2 separate regions of the Homo sapiens genome follow, and region 1 is linked to region 2. The links are contacts of gene promoters, found by promoter capture Hi-C in blood cells and fetal thymus (Javierre and others, 2016). All regions are on one chromosome and are shown on one strand. The core of a region is centred on a gene start or on the middle of the fragment in contact, and the rest is flanking DNA. Distances in the headings are between cores, read along the strand shown. Region 1 overlaps SCRN1 (secernin 1). Region 2 holds the start of GGCT (gamma-glutamylcyclotransferase).

Region 1 (2,859 bases), core at 269-2,768, 550 kb after region 2:
AAATAAAATCATGACATAGTTGAAAGAAGATTGGGCTGGGAGCTGGAGTTCTTGGCTTTCAGTGTGGATGTACCAAGTTACATCACCTCTCTGGGCCACAGTTTCCTCATTTTTTCAATATGAGGTCTAGATTGGATGACTTCCGAAGAACTCCCAAAGCTAACATCCTAGAAAAAGGAATGGGGTTGGATTTTGGTTTTGTAGGGGGAAATGGCACATTTAGACAGTGGTCTCGGGAACTCACTCCTCTGCCACCTGATGGAGAGGTCTGCGAGGGACACCCTTTTGGTAGCACAGTGACTTCCTGCCTTCCTTACCTTTCCTTACTGTTCCTCATTCTTATAAACTCAGGAGGAGCAGCTTCCCTGAGCTGGGGAAAAGGCAGAAAAAGCCAGTTTTTAAAAACCAGTTATATATAGCTAGTTTTCTCTTGATTAGCAAAATGAAATGTATAGAATAACAAGAAGTTTTTTTTTTTTTAGCTTATGTTTTGACAGCTCTCCAGTATTTTTTACTGTATTTGCAGTATGAGACTTATAGAACAGGCAAAATTACCATTTTAACAGTTGATTTCTAAGGGACAGTGGAAGAGGATTTTTTGCCTTTCTTCAGAGCACCTGATATATCTTTTTAAGATTATCAACCAATAAAGCAACAGGAGTTTACTGAATATCTACTTTGTTCTAGACTCTGTGGGTACATGAAGCAGCTCAAAGCTTCAAAGGGATTTTAGTCTGGTTGCAGGAAGAAGAAAATTGAGCAATGGAAATTTTAAGAATAATATAAGAAGATAGTAGGAGAGAGGTAACTCAAAGTGATCTGAGATTTGATGCCACGTGAATGGCACAGAATTCCAGGGTGTGGCCTTCAGCAAACACTGCGGGATGTTCACAGATTATCACAGACTGGTCATATTTGGGAATGCTTTGAGGGGCAGGTTCATTTGACCTGAAGCTGCAAGGCTGAGGGAGGTAGACACAGAAGATATGTTTGTCACAGACTTGGCATTGTGATAATTAGCAAGGTCAGGAGTAGATGACAGGGTGAGAGTTTAACCTTCACCATATAACGTTAACTCCATCTTGGGCTAGCCATGTCCAGCTATTGTAATAAAAAGGGTGTGAAGAGCACTGGTAGGTTCTTCAGGGTGGGGATGGAGTCACAGGCATCTGCACCTTAAGTGGATCTTTTGAGTTCATCTTTAAAGCAGCTATGATCAGTTCAGCCAAGCATAGCCAGATTTTGAAGGGTCATTTCATACCAACCAAATCCTAAAAGTAACTCATGCTCATTACCCAGCATTCTCTCTCTCTCTCTCTTTTTTTTTTTTAGACAAGTCTTGCTCTGTTTCCTAGGAGTGCAGTGGTATGATCTCGGCTGATTGCAACCTCCGCCTCCCAGGTTCAAGCGATTCTCCTGCCTCAGCCTCCTGAGTAGATGGGATTACAGGTGTATGCCACCACACCCAGCTAATTTTTGTATTTTTAGTAGGGACGGGGTTTCACCATGTTGACCAGGCTGGTCTCGAACTTCTGACCTCAAGTGATCCGCCTGCCTCAGCCTCTCAGAGTGCTGGGATTACAGGCGTGGACCACCACATCCCACCCCAGATTTCCTTTTTAATGATTTAATTCTAGTATTAATTTTTAAGAAGCTCCAGATGATATTGATACTACAAGTCAAAAAACCACAGTTTGAGTGGCAAGTTCTAGAGTAGTGGTTCTCAAAGTATGGCTGGTGAACAAGCATCACCTGGGAACTTGCTAGAAATGTAAATTGTCGGTCCCTATTTCACACCCAGGGGCCAGCAACCTGTTTTAACAAGTTCTCCAGCTGGTGCTGATGCACGGTTACGGTGAGAACCGCTGCTCCACAGGAAACTTTCTATCAGTTGGTTTCATTCTCTTAATTTGGGGCTCAGTGCCTCCCTAGGTATTGCTGTGTGAGGAACCACTACTTTCTCTGGCCTTGCTTGCACTCTGTGTCTAGTGCCAGTTCCTCCCTGGACAGCTTCTATGAGAGCAGGCTATGTCCATTTCACATGCTCTTTCAAGGGCCTGCTAGACTGTGGTTGATTATTCAATGAATACAGTAGTTGCCCCTATACTTATCCTGGTACTTTGCACTTTCCAGCAGCATGTGAAATCCAACCTCAGTTCAAAGAGACATAAGGGAATGACAGTAGCAATGTAATAGGCACTGATTTTAAGATAAAGGTATAATTTGTGTATGTTTCCTAGAGGCTTGTGGGAATGTAAGCATTAGGCAATATTGTTTTTATAATGCGTTTTCAGTGACATTTATCTCAAAGCTAAGCTTCATCTGTTATTTTTGATTCACTGTTCTCTGACCACTAGTCCCTTTCTCCTGAGGAAGAGGCATATAAAGACACGTACACATTTTTGCATGTTTCATGAAGTTGGTTCCAAGTAATGAGTAGCCAATAGAAGCTAACATAAAAGTGGGAATTTGGCCAGGTGCAGTGGCTCATGCCTGTAATCCCAGTGTCACACGATCCTTACGGTGTTGCTTTTCCAGCCGGAAACCTCTGTGGCTGGTGGCACCTTTGCCTGAGTTTTGGTCGGGCTGCTGGGCTTGTTCCACCACTTGGCCCTGCACACTGTACTCAGCTTATGCTACTGGCCTGGATCCCATGCCTTCCAAGCACAAGCCAGGCGCAGAGAGGAAAGGGGTGTGTGAGCAAGCATGGGGTCCAGCCACTGCACACAGCCAGGTGTGCCAGCTGTGGCGGGATGGGCAGCTCTAGGCGTTGGCACAGGCACTAGCTCTGTGCGAGGCTGCAGCTGGACCAGGCGTACTGCAAATGGCTTCCACTGCAGTCACCAAGAAACGTGGTGC
Region 2 (2,710 bases), core at 125-2,624:
CATTTAGGATGACTTAGTTGGCATACTTTTGTAAAGAGAACTGTTTCCTCATCAACTGATGCTCGTCATCAGCTGTATTTCAGTTACCCCGAAATACAGCTGCTACTAGAAAGGCGGAATACCTGTTTGTTTTCTTAAATTATCACTTTGCAGAGTAAAGTTGGTGTAATAGTCACCACCAATAGTGTGGCAAATGAAGTTATAGTTTTTTTTTTAATTTGGATTACTCTTTGGGGGGAATGGCTTTTTTATGTTTAAAGTTTCCAATCATTTTTCAGTTTGCAGTCATTGTTATTTTTGATTCTCAAATTGTTCTAATTTTGGCCAGTGGGCAACTTCAGGCTGGTTCCCATGTCCTTTTAGAAGGACCTCGTTCGTCTTGAGAGGCGTCCTGAGCTTCTGACACAAGATGTTCCAAGTTGTCCTCATTCACTCCTAGCTCCTGACCTGGCATCAGTCATTTCTCGAAGGATCACTTGGTACCTTTTAGTGGGGGGTGGTATTTAGAGATTAATAGCTGGGTGTCAAGGATAGACAATGTTCCTATGCCCTTATGTTCATTCAAAAGTTAACAATATAGGTTTTAAAAAATACACCCAGGATGTGTGTGTGTGTGGGAGGGGGTAACCAAAACACAATATAGGGGTTTCTACTGTGACCCTAACTTATATTATGATCCCGATTTTTAAAAAGAGGAAACGGAGACCAGAGGTGCCCAAAGTTACTTGGCTAGTAAATGGCAGCGTCGGGATTTAAGCCCAGGCATGTAACTTCCATGTAACAGGGAAGGGAGTCCCAAGCATTCAGAGGGGCCGCTCCAGCAGGCGACGGGTCCGTGGAAAGGGGTCAGATTGATGACCAGTGCTGGGGGTGCCGGAACCAGCAGAAAGGGTGAACGGACCCGTCCTGCCCGACTCCTCTAGGCCAGGAAGGCAGGACCCGGCGAGCTGCCGGATGAGGGAGCCGTTGATGGAGTCGCCTGGGCCGCTGTTTCGCCTCAGATCTGACCAGAACTTCCTAAGGCACAGAAAGTACCAAAGAACCACACACAAGCACCCCAGAGCGAAGAAACCAGTCACGCGCCACGACCTTCAGCCAGTGTCCATGGGACCCGACCCGCCTGTGAGGAGTGCCTGTCCACCCCTCAATCAGAGGAAGCCTTGAGCAAGGAGGGGCGGGACATCAGTAGGTCGTGTCCAATGAGGAGCCAGCGCCGGATTGCTTCAGGACAGACTATTTCTGAGTCTCGGCGGAAGGCGGAGGGAAGGCCGTGGGGATGGCCAATCAAAGGGGGCGACTCAGGTCGGTGGGGACCGGCAGCCAATCAGGAGAGCGCTCGCTCCTGACTCGACCGGCCCACGCTTCCCGCCAGTCCCCTAACCCTGAGGCTGCCGCGCGGCGGTCACTGCGCCGGGGTAGTGGGCCCCAGTGTTGCGCTCTCTGGCCGTTCCTTACACTCTGCTTCAGGCTCCAGTGCAGGGGCGTAGTGGGATATGGCCAACTCGGGCTGCAAGGACGTCACGGGTCCAGATGAGGAGAGTTTTCTGTACTTTGCCTACGGCAGCAACCTGCTGACAGAGAGGATCCACCTCCGAAACCCCTCGGCGGCGTTCTTCTGTGTGGCCCGCCTGCAGGTGAGTGCCCCCTCCCGCGCTACCCACGCCGGGGCCGGGATGCCCAGAAGGCGCTTCCTCGGGGGCACACGTGGCCGATCGGGCCAGGAATGCAGTTCTTCTTGATGAGGGTACTAGGACGCGGCTTCCGCCTCCTGGGCGGGTCCACCTCCTCCGCTGCGCCCACTGCCCGGCCCTGCCCGGGCCACGGTGCCCTCTCGGGCTGCCTGGAGCTTTCCCCCTCCTGGCCTTTGCACCGGCTGCTCGGTCTGCACCGATTTGGCCTCTCGTCCACTAACTTAACAGATTGCATACAGTTGGTACTTCTGGAGAGTCTTCTCTGACCCGTGTCTGGGAATTGGTTGCCTTCTGTTCTGTACATAACCTTTGTTACAGCACTTCTCACCTGGCATTGTGAAAATCCGTTTACCTGCCTTTCGCTCCTCATCTAAGAGGTCCTGAAAGCTGGGACCATGTCTTATTTGTAATAATGCTGTGTTCAGTTAGGTCAAGGGGCTGCATGAACTATAACCAGTGTTGGTAAATCATTGCTCTTCAGCCCAGTCCATTCATTCATTTAGTACATATTCTTCCGGCACTTAACACTAAGGGTATAAACATGATTGAGTAAAGTGGCTGTTTCGAGGAACTCTCAGTCTGTAGGACAGAGGTGCAATAGATTATGTTCAAAACCTTTTTGACAGCGTCGAATGAGACAAACATGATCTCTGCTAACATCGTGAGTTCTTAGTTGCAAGCAACAGAAACTGGCTGATTTAAGCAAAAAAAAAAAAAAAAAAAAAAAAAAGAATGTGTTGAAAGGCTATTGGAGAGCTCACAGAATGACCAGGAAGGCAGGAGTACAAAGCTGACAAAACGGACAAGCATAAAGGGAGGCACAGCAACTGTAATACAGTGGGCATCACACAACAGAACCAGCCCACGGAGCCTCTTCCACGCCACTGCTGAACTTGGTAAACGTGGATGCTGTATTGTCCACCACCCCCTGCCCTGGACACTGCCTGCCTCTGTACATCCCTGCAGTTCCTGAAACCCAAATGTGTCAGCCTCTCTGGAGTCCCTGCTGTCTTGGGCAC

The links. Contacts are between HindIII fragments. The CHiCAGO score rates a contact against its expected background, and 5 or more counts as called.
Region 1: a fragment that was not itself captured here is called in contact with the fragment with the promoter of GGCT in region 2 in 2 of 17 cell types (total B cells and neutrophils); the score reaches 6.3 in total B cells.

What each region holds. Positions count from the first base shown.
Region 1 is chr7:29,951,155-29,954,013 of GRCh38, reverse strand. The region is part of intron 3 of SCRN1 (secernin 1); the gene reads left to right. Among named protein-coding and RNA genes, the nearest start is that of FKBP14-AS1, 36 kb to the left of the region's middle. The HindIII fragment of the contact is 1,600 bases long and covers 719-2,318 here.
Region 2 is chr7:30,503,493-30,506,202 of GRCh38, reverse strand. It overlaps GGCT (gamma-glutamylcyclotransferase), which reads left to right and starts at 1,374. Exons shown (of 4, transcript NM_024051.4): 1 at 1,374-1,634. The coding sequence starts at 1,494. RefSeq lists enhancers at 899-988, 408-1,286, 1,429-1,638, 1,287-2,166 and a silencer at 1,789-1,968. The HindIII fragment of the contact is 6,754 bases long and covers 1-2,710 here.